2 separate regions of the Homo sapiens genome follow, and region 2 is linked to region 1. The links are contacts of gene promoters, found by promoter capture Hi-C in blood cells and fetal thymus (Javierre and others, 2016). All regions are on one chromosome and are shown on one strand. Each heading gives the region's core, a stretch centred on a gene start or on the middle of the fragment in contact. The rest is flanking DNA. Distances are from core to core; before and after follow the strand shown.

Region 1 (7,920 bases), core at 3,104-5,603:
TGGTGCAATCAGTTTTATTCTAAAAGTCAATGGACTAAGTCAATGGAGGTTCTGTCACAGATCAGCACAAAAATTTTATCTTTTACTCATCAGCCATGCCTCAGCCACACAATCTGGAGCCATACAACACTGGAGATTGCTTTCCAAGATGTTACAATTTCACAGGCATTCCTTGCTGTAAAGAGCAGTCTGAGCTCTTTAAACTTTAACTTTGACCTTTAAAAAGAATCTGAATTCTTGAATATATATCCATAAAAGTGCACGCACACAAACACACACACATATATAAAAAATTGGGAGTGATTATTCATTGTAAAAAGGACTTACATTAAAATCTGTCTAGATAAACATCACTTTGGAATGAACACCGTGACTAGATTTACAGAAATTCAACTGAAAGAACTTCAGTAAGCATATATCATTACACAAAATAACACATGTCTATATTGCAAAATCATTTTCTTAATATCAGCAACACTGAAAAAAAGTATTTGCTGTTTCTCTTAGGCTCCTCAGATACAGCTCAGTCAAAGTCAATATTTTATCAACGAGTTTGAAAATTTTGTCAATTATTTACATGCACAACTCCCTGCTACACACACACTACACAAACACACACTGTATTTTATTATCATTTCCCTTTATGCTCAATTTCTTGAGGCAATTAACATTAATAATTTAATATTAGTATGTCCATGTTTATAAACATGTTTGTTTCGAATCACATGGGTGGATAGGTTATCTTTTCAATAAAAAAAAACAAACAGGTTCAGGCTGGGAGAAGTGGCTTATACCTAGTTCCCGGCACTTTGGGAGGCTGAGGCAGGAGAGTCACTTGAGGCCAGGAGTTTGAGAACAGCCTGCACAACATTGTGAGGTCCCCCATCTCTACAAAAATTAAAATAAAAAATTTAGCCAGGTGGCACATGGCTGTAGTAGCAGTTACTCAGGAGGCTGAGGCAAGAAGGATCACTTAAGCCCACGAGGTTGAGGCTACAGTGAGCTATGATTGCACCAGTGCTTTCAGAGTGACAGAGTGAGACCCTGTTTCAAAAAAAAACAAAACAAAGTTTATATGAGTACTAAAAGTCATATTATTTTGAAAAGTCTTTTCTTTTTTATTTAAATTGTTGAAAGTTTTCAGTTTTTCAGAGGCACAGGCAATTTTTTGTGTAAGCCTCACATTCTGGCCTTAGCTTTATTGATGAGTGTCCTTTGTCTCTAATGCCCCCCACTCCATATTTTCCTGTCACTTTCCAGAAGCCTCCAATTCAATATAATCTCTCCACACTCTGAAATCCCATGGGCTGAAAGAGAATGTGTTTTTGTTGTTGCTGTTTTTGAGCATCTGCCACATGACAAGAATTGTTAAGCTGTCTCTGTATTAAGCCATTTAATCTTCCCAGCAATGCTGTAAGGTACATGCATGATACTCTCCATGTTCATGGAAGCTAAAACATGAGATCCTCATCAGTCCCCAAAACTTGAATCCATAACAGATAGATAAAATCCCTGCCCCCATGCCAAATCAGTAAAATCAGTAAATTGTGACTAAAATGTAACTCTTCAAAGCTTTAATGATTCAGTGATTCATGATTCAATATCTGCAGGGTTAGGCCATTTATAGAGTAAATTTGCAAGTAAAAACTATTATTTTCTTATATTATTTTACTACCCTTACTTTCCATTGCCAACATAAACTCTTACTTTTTAAATTGTTTTCTGGACAGGCAATTTGACACAAGAAACCCAATATTGTTGCTTTACAAAATTAATAGGTGTGAGACTAGGAGGAGAGAATCCAAGGATAATTGAGTTGTGGAATGTGGAACTCAAATTTGGTCCCCTCATCCTCCATGTAGTCTGCTCCAGCACACCAGTCTTGCTACATGTGTTTTAAAGTGTTCCTGGGCAAAACTATATGCCATGAATCTCCAGGGCCACTCTGAAATCATCCAAGTTTCAGATGATTTTACTGTATGAGTAGTAAGGTTTTGTTCTCTAGCAGAGAAGCTGAGGGCAGTTCAGTAACTCACTGATAGTCATTCAGCTAGTCTCTTATGTCTTAATCTTTTTCTGGTATCTGGATGCTTCTGATCTCCTGATCACTGCTCTTTTAACAGCATAATAAATAATAAAAATGTATCATTTTTTACATCCCCATCAAAAAATTTTTCCTTTAGTTCTTTGATCTTAATAAGAAGGTATATATATATTTATAATTTATTTACTATTTTTATTCTTATAAATTATAAGCCTAAAAGATATCACGATTAAAAATTAATTCCACATATATTTGATATTCTAAAGAACTATTTTATATGAGTTCAGTTAATATTTTTTTAACAGATATTGAAATCAGAACAAATCCAGGTTGACAAACTTGCCCAAGATGTCATTGGTAGTGAGCTGCTAAAATGTTTTAATATATGTTTACTCAATCATGAATGTTTGCATTTTAAATATTTGCCTCTTTAGCAGGGACTAAATGTAGCAAATATTAAAGTGATAACTTTTAATTTTCTCTTTTTCATTTTATTCCCCTGAAACCTTCATCTTTCTGAAGCTTACTGCCCCAAGGCAGGGGAGAATGGCTATTGGTTCTCTTTTGTAGTCTCTCACATTTATCACATCAAGGGTTAATTCTGGAGGGATGAAGTTAAGTTTTCTCCTTATAAAGGGAGAAAACACCCCTTCTGCTTGTGACAACTAGGGCATGAGGCTTGTTGTTCTTTGTTCAGTGGCAGACACAACGTAAAAGGATGGTTTCAATGGCAGCATGGTCCAATGTAGTGTAGGAATGCATCCAGAACCACAAATTGCTTAATGTTTCTGACCCAATACACGCTACTCGCTTTATCCATTCAGTCTGCTCTCAGAAAGCAAAATAGCCTCCACATATTCCCATATGCTTTCTGGATGGAGAGCAGCTGGAAGTAGTAGAGCCCACTGCTGTAGATGAGGTAGAGGGATAGTGGGGGAGAAATGTACCCCTACCGGTTGCCAGGAAATTGTGCAAGGAAAAAGCCTGAGGAAAGCAGGAGACTTACTGGATTGAACTCCTTATTTCTGCTTTCTGCGCTTTGGCCTGAAGAAGGCTATTTGTGTTAGATGGATAAGGGTAACACACAGAGCAGAGGGACCCCTTATCCCTTTCCCGATTTGGGACTCTGAAGACTTCCCTGTATCAGTCTGGAATACAGGAGACACGATAGGCATCTAGAAGTGCAGTGTGGGTATGCAAGAGAGAGGTAGAAGTTTAACCTCTCCAGGACACCTCAGTGCCTATGTGCTATTATTGGACCCAAGAGTTCTCACCATTCTCTGGAAGAAATGTAAAGGCAGCTGGGTTAAGGCCAGGGACCTTAAATGGCCTGGACTGCAAAGGGGCAAGGTGACCCTGCATCACAGGCTGTGTTGAAACAATAGCCATAGTATTTGAGGCAGGATGCAAAGGTAGGAGTTCTATGGGATATGAAACAGCTGAAGTGAGACAGTCAGTTAGAGAGGACTGTTGGGTCCTGAACACACAAGAGAAACCAGATGGCTAAACTTCAACAGTGCATGCCAGCAAGTAAGGAGAAGTCAGACTGACAGTAGCCAAGAAGGACGGAGAACTTTGAGACCAAGGACTCTGACAGTTTTCTCTATTAGGAGTTAATGGAGACCACAGTTCTCTAGACACTATAGAGGAGAGGAACTGGGGAGAGGTGGAAAAGAAGTCTTACAATTATTGAGTTGTACCAACTTACAACTGGATAGGGTTAAAATTATTTTCCCTGCTTTGGTCCCCCACTGGGGGCTGTTGGTGAAGACTTGATACATGATTGAAAAATAAAGGAGCTATACTTTCTGTATATATATATATGGCCTACAATACATGTTAAGTTGCACTTCACTATATATTTCGAATATCTCTATATTCAGTGCCTTCCATCCAAAAGAACTGTTCTGTGAAGTTGGGATCTAGTGTTTTATTTAATCATGCTTCCTAGTGACTAATCGTATTTATGACTCTGATTGGCCCAGTGTAGAAAAAATGATTTCAAGAATAGAGGATAAATGAAAGACAAACAAGGGATTAACTGGAATAATTTCTTATATTTGGAAGGTATTGTAATGAGTGGAAAGGTGGCATTTACAAAGGAAGGCAAAGCGAAGACACAAGGGAGAGACTGAAACGCACTCTGGAGGAAGGGGTCTTGAGTGAGACTTACGGTTCTGTAGAGTTTGAGTCACTGGCAGAAAGCAGGATAAGAAGTAGCACAAGACATAAATGAAGAAGTCTGTCTTTCCGCATTGTGAGGGATAAATCTCAGGGTTGTGTCCAACTCTCTGCCCTCAGCCTCGCCCTGGAGACCAGCTGAGTTTACCAGGCTTTATGTGGCCACTATGTACAAACAAGCCCCACCCCAAGGCCTCTGAATAGAGTTCAGAATTGAGCACAGATTCCCTAAAAGGGTCATTACTCTCAGTGGTTGCCTCATTTTTCTCAAGGCTAAATTCTGATAGGTACTGAGGCATGTCTGGAAGATAAAATTTGTATTCCATTTAGAATGAGCTTTGACAGCAAACCTCCTGATAAGGAACCTTCAACCTACCTTTCTCCATCTCTTTCAAAATCCTTACAAGCAGGTGACAAAGGATGCTGACAAAGAATGTCAGGGACATGTTACCATGATAGTAGCTCATGCATTGCAGATTCATTTCTGGGACTGAGTGAGTTATAACTATAGACTTTAGGGTTTTTGGGTTTTCTTTTTTAGCAGTTGATTGAGTACATGGTCCTGGAAGAAAGTGATATAAAATAAGGATTTCAAGAGTAGAGGATCAATGAAAGATAAAAGAGATAAAAGATCAAAGAGATTTTAGAAAGGAGTTATCAAAGATCACACTTGTCTATTTCACAGCATTGACCTGATCAGATTCTTAGTTGATCCTATCTGTCCTTGTTACTGTCTGAGCACTCTAACGTTTGAGTCCCTTAAACCATGTCATTGACTTTATCTGAGATTTTTTTTTTGAGCCATACTGTGTGCTAAGTGCTATTCTGGTGATGAAAATACAATATTGAACAGGATATTCAGTATCCATGCTCTCATAGAACTTGTAGTACAATGATGATCACATATAAACCACCAGCAGATTTAATGCCATCCTTAGACTGCAGACATTGGTGTCTGTTTACATACTGTATTGCTTGAAACTTTTTAAATCAACTTTCTTTCTCTTTCTCCATATTTCAGCCTAATCATCCCTTCTTTGGAGAGCAAATTCCTGGCCACACTGCTGAAAGTGGATTCCTTCCTATTAGTTTTTATTTCACATCTTTGTTTCTTTTGTCACATTATCATAGAATGAAATAATTTCTTTTAAATTATGAAATGTTATATATATATATACTCACAAATATAGAGAGCAAGATAAAAGACACTCGTACCTTACATGCACCCAACTTTAATAAAATTAAACACTTGCCAAGTTTGTTTAAGGTCATTTCTTCTTAAGAAATGAAAGATGGCAATGGTAGTGCTCTTTTAAAATTTGTCTAGAAGCTTTTCCAGTTTTTACCAGATCCACCAACCCAAAAAAAGAAATAAATCAAGACAAATATGGTTGGAGTTTCCTTTGTAATTCTCTCCAATCTCATTTCCCTTCCAATGTTGTGGGATTAGGAAGTTGATATGTATTCTTCAAGATGTGTTTATGTTTTTAATCCATATTTATGTAAATAATATATAGCATAATTTTGTGTTTTGTATTTTATATGTATAAGTGGTATGCACATATTGTAAAATATGTCATCACTATTATGGTTTTAAGACTTATTAGCATTGATAATGAGGATAAAATTTATTAATTTTAATGACCATCTATACGACATTCTATTGTATGAATGTGGCCGAACCTGTTACTCTATTCCCCTAGTGCTGAATTTTGGATTCTTCATAGTTTTCAACATTACAAATAATACTGCTACAAATACGGTATGTCTACTTAAGCATATTTGCAAGACTTTCTCTAGGGTATATAGCAGAGATTGGGTTATAGGCTATATATGTATGTACATCTTGAAATCTATCAGATTGGTAAATTGCTCTTCAGAGTATTACATGGATTTGAATACCCATCTGCAACAGTGGATATTTTCAGTTTATTATATATTTACCATCGTTTTACTCTGCTAGGCATTTTACTTTTTATCAATCTGATGAGTGAAGCAGTATCTTGCCTTAATTTTCATTATTAATGACTTTACACATCTTTTCATATGTTTATGGACCATTTGAATTCTACCATCAGTTTGATATCTCAACACAATATGTAAAGGGTCTATCAGGAACATCTCCTTGCCCCAGTTTCATGAGCCTTGGACTCTAGACGCTGCAATTTTATTTACTAAAGGCTTTAAAATGTGCTTCTAAATCTCTCAGCCAAATATTCTGGAGCTGTTAAATACCCTAAGGGGAAAGTGCCCTTAAACACAGAATTGCCCCTTTGGGTTGCTATGTTGCTTCTGAACTTTGGATTCATAATTCTTCACAGTCTTTGCTTTTCAATACCTCCAGTGAATATATATATAACCAACCATTCCTAATTTAAGTGGGAAGTTTGGTCTCAATTACCTTGTATACCATTACTGGAAAGGAAAGTCTTAAGTGTGTATTTTTATTTTATATAAAGAGTATTGGAAAAAGACCTTGCCTGTTTCTTATTCTTTTTAGTTATTGCTAGTTTTAAAACATCCTCCCATGTTTATATGTTTATATGTATGTATTTTATTAATTGCATTTTATTACAGTATAGCCCTCTTTGGTGATCATCCAAGAGGTTTAATGTTTCCACTCTCCTAATGATAAAAACAGGATTGTCTCTATTGTCCTGCCATGAGGAAATAATGCTTTGATAAATATCTTTTTACATATACCCTTTGAGACAGGTAAATCCTCTTGCAAGACGCATACACAGGAGTGAGATTGTTGTATGAGAGGCATGTACTTAAGTGACTAAATAGTGACAAATAACTCTCCAGAATGGTTGCATCACACCACAATTCTACCAGTAGTGCATGAGGATTTTCGTATCCCCATATTGCCACCAATACTCTAGCTTTTACATTTTTCTTCCAGTATTCCTTTAAATAAGCTTTCTGCTCATTTCCCTCTTTTCTCCTTCTAGGACTCCCATAATATGTGTATTTGCATGCTTGATGGTATTCCATAGGTCCCTTATACTTTCTTCACTCTTCTTTAATTTTTTTTCTTTTTTCACCTTTAATTAACTATTTACATGACCTGTCTTCAAGTTACTAATTCTTTCTTTTGTGTGACTGTGTTTGCTGTTGAAGCTCTCCATTAAAATATTCAGTTCTGTTCTTATATAATTTTTGTGTGTTTTTTCTTAATGGTTTCTATTTCTTTATTAAACTTCTCATTTTGTTCATACATTGTTTTTCTAATTTTATTTAGTTGTCTATCTGTGTTTTCTTGCATCTTACTGAGCATCTTTAAGATGATTATTTTGAATTTTGGGGGGAAATTTGTAGATCTCCATTTGGGGTGGAGATTAGTTACTGGAACTTCATTGGTTTCCTTTGGTGGTATTATGTTTGCCTGGTTCATCATTATCTGTGTAACTTTGCATTGGTTTCTATGCATCTGAAGGAGCAAACACCTTTTCCCATCTTTATAGACTGGTTTTACAGGTAAAGATCCTCAGGATCCTCCTGTTGGGTTCCCAGGATTGACAAGATTGCTTCCAGAATTGTGGTCAACTGGAGGTAGAGCCAGGTCACATGGTTTTGCTGGGTCAACAGTGAGGTCTGTGGTTGGCAGGCCTGTTAACTGGGGCTCTAGTAGGCTTAGATTCTGTCTGTTCCCTGGGTAAATTGGACTGCCTCCTAGACCTTGGTCAGTAGGT
Region 2 (7,920 bases), core at 98-2,597, 110 kb before region 1:
ATCCTCTCTCCACAGGACACGATGGCATTTTCTTAGGTATTATTAGTGGAAACAAAATGCTCCAGATCTTCATATAATACATACAACTTTAACCGTAAAATTCTAGGCATGATGCTTTCAAGTCCATTTGAAGGTGAGAAGTAAGACAGACATAAAAATTGTGATAGTTACATTGCATTATATTCGTAGGAGTTTAAAACTGATTGACAAGAACAGATGAGCAAAGTGAGTGGTGTGATGAAATTAGACACTTTCTCAAAGTATCTTAACATTTCTCATTTCCTCTCCCTGCTTTTATTGTGGCATATTGCATAATTATTGTCTGTCTCATCTATGGGACAGACAATGTAAGTTCCATGAGACATACATTTTTATCTTTCCAGTAGCTCACTGCTTGATCTCTACTAGCACTTAGTATAATACCTAGAACACAGTGGGCATTAAATAAATGTGTTGAATGAATGACCTACACTAGTAGCAGCAAAGTGTTTCATTGGTAAGACACTAATCAAAGCTTGAGAAGAGTTGGTGTTTTAACTCAGGTCTACTACTAAATCCCTGAAAGCTTCTGCTTTATTATTAATAAATAGGACTGTCTGCCTTATCTACCCATCAGGGTTGTTATAATTTGAAAAATTCTTTGAGAATTATAAAATTATATTATAAAAGTATAAAACATGTATATTATTTTCCCACATATCCTCTTGAGATCCTACTGTTGAAATGTACTTGATGCTTCCTTTAGAAGTATTCTAATATTTTCAGTTAAAATCCCATTAGAAGGACAAACAAGTAAGAAACATTTTTTTATAAGTTTCTATTTCAGGAAAATAAAAATATAAATTTCTCTTTGTTAAATTATGGTAGTAGAAAAAGCTTCAGTAAGAGGTTATTACAATTGGTCTCATATTAAAAATTTGAAGATGTGAGCAAACTACTATTAGTACATGCTATTAACTAGTTTTTGTTGTTCCAATTCAGCATATCCTTTTGGTATTTCTTCTATTAGCTCCATATTTTCAAAGAGTTCAGTTATCAATGTCAATTATATAGTAGTTCAATTTCCCTAAGTTTTGTTCCTCAGAGATAATACATATGTTCCCTCAGAAATTATGTGTAGCTTGGGACAGCAATTATTTCAACTGATGTAATTCTTTTTTTTTTTTTTTTTTTGACACCAAGTCTTGCTCTATTGCCCAGGCTGGAGTGCAGTGGCACGATCTCGGCTCACTCAACCTCTGCCTCCTGGGTTCAAGTGATTCTCCTGCCTCAGCCTCCTGAGTAGCTGGGATGACAGGCGCCCGCCACCACGTCTGACTAATTTTTGTATTTTTAGTAGATACGGGGTTTCATTATATTGGCCAGACTGGTCTCAAACTCCTGATCTCAAGTTATCTGCCTGCCTTGGCCTCCCAGTGTTGGGATTACAGGCGTGAGCCACCAGGCCCAGCCATAATTCTTATAAAAACGGAAATCTGATATTTCATTTAGCCTGTATAGCCTCAGTGCAGGTATATGTATCACTTTTGTTAGGCTTTTTGAAATGTTGAAACTAGTTTGACAACTCCTATTACTGGTTGCATGGAGCTCTGGGATTTTAAGGACTTTGGGTACTGTATGGTCTTTTTACATTTTAAATATATAATTTTCGAACGGCTTCCCCGGTTGCTCAGTTAATCCTTTCTTTTATTTTGCATAACTGCACTTCTCATATAGCACTTTTCACAATCTGCTCTGTATTCTCTCCAGCCTTGCATATACGGATGTCCTGACACAATCAGAAGATTTGAATTTGTATTGCTATGTGCTCTTGAGCAAGAAGCTTAACGTGTCTGAATAACGAGTCCTTTTTTGGTTGTTAATTTTCATCACATTTTGTCCTTTTAAAAATTCTTTTATTTGATTCAATATATTGTATTTTGTTTATTTTTTTAACTGCAGAAGTGAGTAGTTATATATATATATATATATAATTCCTTACCAATGAAAGCCCACAAGAGAGCTCAAAGCAATTAATTCCTAGATAAATATAATTTTAATTGATCTTATCCTACTTATCCAGTCATTTTTCCTTGCTCTGAGCCCCTGGCACGGCCCTTCTTGATTCCTGAGGCTGCCAGGAACTCACCGAGGACGCCGAGAGCTCAGCATCAGGCTTCATGAGCAGCACGCTTTGGTCCACAGCACGGAGGGCGCAGACGGACTGAGGAGCCGCTGTGACTCGCAGGTGGGCGTGTGAGGCTGGGAGACTTTGTGATGGGCTGAAGCTCAAATCCACCTGTGAAATTGGAACAAAAGGTCAGAAAAGCAAATTTCCAGGTTTACCCATGCATTCACTCGCATTTGCAGAGTGTTCCTCATGTACAATGTATAACCACTCTGCTTGACTTCGTGGAGGGTTGGCATTGTGTCAATCCTGAAGCTTTTTGTTCCCTACACTTCTCTTTCATTCTCAAGAATCACTTGAGCCAGTAGAATTATTTCTAATTATTCTTATAAATTACTAGTCATGAAATGCCATTTTTATCTTTGATACACGGCAAGGTGCTCATTAATTGTGGTGGGACATGCATGGGTCTAGGTGCTCTTGCATTTTTCTTTTGGCTCCTTAGTAGTCTTAAAAACTTGCTTACATATTTCCCAACGTTTCATCATAGAAGAAGGGAATAACATACTCTGAACTGTGTAATTGGTAAGAGGCACTGCTAGGAGAAGTTTGAGAGTTTTGTATAAGGAATCAAGTGATTCTGCTTCTTAGTGTGACTCTGCCACTACCTTGCTGAATGTCTCTGGGGAATTTGTTTAACCCTTTTGGCCCTAATGTTCACATGTGTAAAACAAATGATAACAATAGTAACTTCTAGTTTTACATGTTGAAGATTTTATGATCTAAAACACACACCTTGTTGGCCAGACAATTTTCAACATCATATTTTGCAGAATCCCCAATCACGTCCCCGGTAGGTAAAACAGCATAGATGAGCAACCGAGCGACAGGAGCAATGTCTGACTTCACAGGGATTGAGATGGAAAAATGGCCCTTCACTGGGGCACAAAGAGAATGAGAGGAAGCCATCATAGGTTAATGACTATTTCCATTAGTAGATGTAACAGACATAATAAACAGTAGATGTAACAAATGGATGATTACCTCTAAGGACTCTAGCTTTAGAAAAAAACCCTATCAAAGCCCTCTCTCCTCTCATAAATCATATACTCTGTTGATTTTTCACCAGCTTTAAGCTTCAGCTCACCCACCTAATGTTCTGATGCTAGTTAAGGGTATGAAGACATCCAATTCACTACCATTTGATCTAGGCCTCATACTAGAAGAGGGAAATAGAACCTGAAGTTATGAGATGTAAGAGTAAGAGTTCAACACATTGTATTCATGCTACATGCTCTTTAACCTTCTATGAGCCAATATTTGGTTCTTTCTCCATAAGAGGAACACCATGCTCCTTCAGAAGTTATTTTTTGATGCCTATGTAGATTCTTTAGAGGTTGCATTAAGTTTCCTTCAGTCTGCTATGGTGCTTCTGTGTTGCTACAAGAACTAATGAGAGAGTAGATTACTGATACTTTTCTAGCAAGTTATCTTTTAGAGTCTACTAGACTAGGAGCAACCTTCAAAGGTTTATATTATGACATATTTGCTCATGGCAAGAGTCCGCTTCAGTCGGTAGAAGTACCCAATTTAATGCTTCATAAATCATAACTATCTTGAAAGGGAAAAAAGATATTTATAATAATATAAATGACATAAATGACTCAGCACAAGACCTGGTATATACAACATACCTTGAAATCGTACATTTTCTCCACCCCATTCTCTAACACAATTCTCATTTTGAGAAGAGGTTCAAGAATATTTATGGTTTAAAAATCTGGAATAAGCATAGATTATACACAACAATATTTTATGTATTTTATTTTTCCCCCTTTGTTCTTATTTATTTATTTATTTATTTATTTACTTTTATAGAGATGGGGTCTCACTATGTTGACCAGGCTGGTCTCAAACTCCTGACCTCAAGAGATCCTCCCATCCCGTTCTCCCAAAGTACTGGGATTACAGGCGTAAGCCATCATAGCTGGCCCACACCAATATTTTAAATAACGCAAAGAAAATAGGCTGAAAAAAAAGACAACACATATTTGATAAAGGGTGAGAAAAAAACCATTATTGTTTTCCCTCCCTCAACTTTCTTTTAATTAATATTAGATGGAAATGGTCTCTCGTTACTTGAAAGTATTCCTGATATTCCCAGCTCAGGAATGGAAAACCAAACATCATATCTTCTCACTCAGAAGTAGGAGCTAAGCTATTAGGAAGTGGCAGCTAAGCTATTAGGAAGTGGGAGCTAAGTTATGAGGATGCAAAGGCATAAGAATGATACAATGGACTTTGTGGATTCAGGGGGAAGGGTGGAAGGGGGTGAGGGATAAAAGACTGCAAATTGGGTACAATGTATACTGCTCGGGTGATGGGTGCACCAAAATCTCGGAAATCACTACCAAAGAATTTATTCATTCATGTGACCAAACACCACCTGTTCCCCCAAAAACCTATGGAAAAAAAGGGAAAGTATTCTGATACTTCCGTGGTGTAAGGCTGAATGGGTCAGAATGGGGCAGCAATGCAGAGATGATGGAAATACTCACTGTCTTCCTGCTTCACAAGCAGTCCATGAGTCCCAGTTCGGACAATGCCTCCCTTTGCCATTATCTGCAAAAAAGGAAATAAAAAGAAATTAAATGTGCCAGAGAGAACACGCTTCAGTCTCACTTCAATATACTTGTTTTATTGAGTCCCTGCCGGCAATAATTCACCTCAAGAGAAATCAAACTTTCAAAAGGAACATGGATAAGAAGTTGAAGTAATGACATCTAAAGAGCTTCATGATTACTTGCTCCACAGAGAGCTTTTGTCTACAGTGAAGTCAACGCAGTAACCTCCCTTCTCACCAGATAATAGAAGGAGAGCTTCTTCAGCCCCAGCAGGGTGCCTCCATTCAGAATATAATGTGCCTGGACTGTCTGAGTATGGCCACAGGGTAGTTCATGAGACATGGGCTCAAGGTGGACAAAGCTCTTGCTTGGGGAGAACACAAGATAAGCAGTGTGATGTGCCTCTTCGTGTTCTTCTGACACCCACTGGTAGCCGTAACAGGGACTACGATCCTTGTAATTGACCTAATGAATTAGAAAAATTATATTATTTTTAGATTATACGTCATAAAGATTAATGTTCTCACAAAACTACGTAAGTTTACTGTCCTACCTTAACTAGTAGCTAGAAATCTTTTGTTCCACAATGAAAAGTGGGAGAAGGACCCCTGATTTTGTTTCTCTGCTTCAAATGTAGGCATGCTTTGTGACTTTACACTGCAGAGCCTCCTGGGATTGAGATTTATATTTCTTAAGAGCATAAAAGGAGGCATCCTTTGCTCTGATTAGCTTGCTTGAAATTTCTTTGACTGCTTTACCTGTGCAATTAGAGACACTGGAGCTATGAAACTTCATTGAGGAGAGTAAATAATCTCTAGAAATGGAAGAACTGTGCTTTCAGAAAGCAGCTGCCTCTTTTAGGGTGGATTTTGAATGGGTATTATGAATAAATAAAATATTGTAACCTTAGGGGTCTGAGAAGACATTGGTAGAAAGCATTGGTTTAAGAGCTGAGCTGATGAATTAGCTGAAGTCTACCTCTTCTGGGCTATCTTAGGCTGATTGCTATTATTATTATTTTTTTGAGACAGGGTTTTGCTCTGGCGCCCATGCTGGAGTACAGTGGCACAATCTTGGCTCAGTGCAATCTCTGCCTCTGGGGCTCAAGTGATCCTCCCAGTCAGCCTCCTGAGTTGCTAGGACTACAGGTGCATGCCACCCCACCCAGCTAATTTTTTGTATATTTTGTAGAGACAGGGTTTCACCACGTTGCCTAGGCTCGTCTCGATCTCCTGGCCTCACGCAATCCACCCACCTCAGCCTCCCAAAGTGCTGGGATTACAGGCGTGAGCTACCGTGCCTGGCCTAGGCTGACTATTTTTAATGCTCCCTGCAATCTGGATTCTAATACCTCAGAGGCCCTATTTGGGTTATATTTCCAACTTTTCTTCCTGTAGAAGTTATTCCTTAGCTCCTTTCAGGCTTCCTCTACCTTCATCCCCAGCTCCCAATAGCACTAGTGAATCCTTGAGCAAAACATTTTGTTCATATCTTAATGTATATTTTGGTGACAACACATATATGATCACCCCAAACAGGGAACAGGTAGAAATAATAATTTCATTGTCAAGACTAGCACAGTGCTGGCACGTGGAAAGCATTCAAGACACTTTTTGAAATGAGTAAACATTCAAATTAGAGGGAGGTGCTTTTATGCCATCTATTAAAGCTAAATAAATAAAATGTATTATTTATTTCTCTATAACAAGGTAAAACTCTAAAGAGGCAGGCGTTTTCCATTACCATGATTATGTAATATATATTAAATATGTATTGTATATCCATGTATCTATAGACATGTCTACATCTCTCTTGATGAATAGAGGACTGCATGCTATACCGAATAACTTATATTGGTATGAACAGGTCATCTGGAGAAAATTAGAATAGCAAGACAAAATAAAGTAAGGTAATAATTTTTGGAGTATATATATTTAAAACTAAATGCTAATTATGTTAGAATTGGCTTTTATAGTAAAAGTATCTAACAGTTAAAGGGGGCTTACTAAGTGATTCAACATGTATGATTTCACTTAATCTTCACAACCACCCCAAGAGTCAGGTGTTAGTATTGCAATCATTTTACAGATAAGGAAATGAAGCACAGAGGTTTTAGTTAATTCCTTAAAATAGGGTTGAGCCAGTATTTTTAACCACTTTATCTGATTCAGATTCTGGAATTCACACTTTTCAAAAAAGTTATTATAAACACACACACACACACAACATAAAATTACCATCTTCATTATTCTTTAGTGTACAGTTTGGTAGTATTAAGTATATCTGTTGTGCAACAGATCTCCAGAACTTTTCATCTTGTAAAACTAAACCTGAATACCAATAAGAGGAATTCCCCATTTCTCTCTTTCCCTAGCCCTTGGCAACCACCATCCTGTTTTCTGTTTCTATGACTTTGACTACTTTAGAAACCCCATGTACGTGAATCATACAGTATTGGTCTTTTTGTGACTAGCTTATTTCACTTACCATAACGTCCTCAAGGATCATTCATGCTGTAGCATGTGACAGGATTTTCTTCCCTTCTCAGGCTGCATAATATTCTGTTGTATTTATATACCACATTTTGTTTACCTGTTCATCCCTTGATGGACATTTGGGTAGCCTCGATCTCTCAGCTATTGTGAATAGTGCGGCTATGAACACGGGTGTGCAAATAGCTCTTTGAGACCCCGTTTTCGATTCTTTTGAATATATGTCCAGAAGTAGGATTACTGGATCATTTGGTAATTCTATTTTTTAATTTTTTCAGGAACTACTATACTGTTTTTCATAGTGGCTCCGCCATTTTACGTTCCCAGCAACACTGCTAAAGTCTAACCCGCACTTTTAATCACAATATACTGCCTTCTTTTCATAAACTTTAAAAAAGTTAACCTTCAATCGGTTTCTAATTGCTAGTTTTTTTCTCTCCATAGAACTAGACACAGTTTGGAAATTTTCTCACCCTTAGGTTGCAACCTTGTTTCCAAGGCTACTTCATGTCATTGGTAATTTCTTTCCAAACTTACCCTAACAGTAAGAGAGGTACCCATAACATTGGTGGTGTTGATAGAGAACTGTACAAGGCCATGCTCATCCGTGGTAGCATTGGAGTAATAGTTTGCTTCATTTCCTCTGATGAATATGACTTTATTTGGTATAGGGACGCCTTTCCCATCTACTAGGCGC

The links. Contacts are between HindIII fragments. The CHiCAGO score rates a contact against its expected background, and 5 or more counts as called.
Region 2: a contact is called between a fragment that was not itself captured here and the fragment with the promoter of PZP in region 1, in 1 of 17 cell types (endothelial precursors). The highest score is 7.4, in endothelial precursors.

The regions. Positions count from the first base shown.
Region 1 is chr12:9,204,042-9,211,961 of GRCh38, forward strand. It overlaps PZP (PZP alpha-2-macroglobulin like), which reads right to left and starts at 4,354. Exons shown (of 36, transcript NM_002864.3): 1 at 4,218-4,354. The coding sequence starts at 4,300. It also overlaps a transcript of KLRG1 not described here. The HindIII fragment of the contact is 2,989 bases long and covers 2,565-5,553 here.
Region 2 is chr12:9,096,479-9,104,398 of GRCh38, forward strand. A2M (alpha-2-macroglobulin) reads right to left here. Exons shown (of 36, transcript NM_000014.6): 11 at 7,761-7,920; 12 at 4,969-5,196; 13 at 4,666-4,729; 14 at 2,903-3,045; 15 at 2,129-2,278. It also overlaps a transcript of KLRG1 not described here. Among named protein-coding and RNA genes, the nearest start is that of A2M, 15 kb to the right of the region's middle. The HindIII fragment of the contact is 946 bases long and covers 875-1,820 here.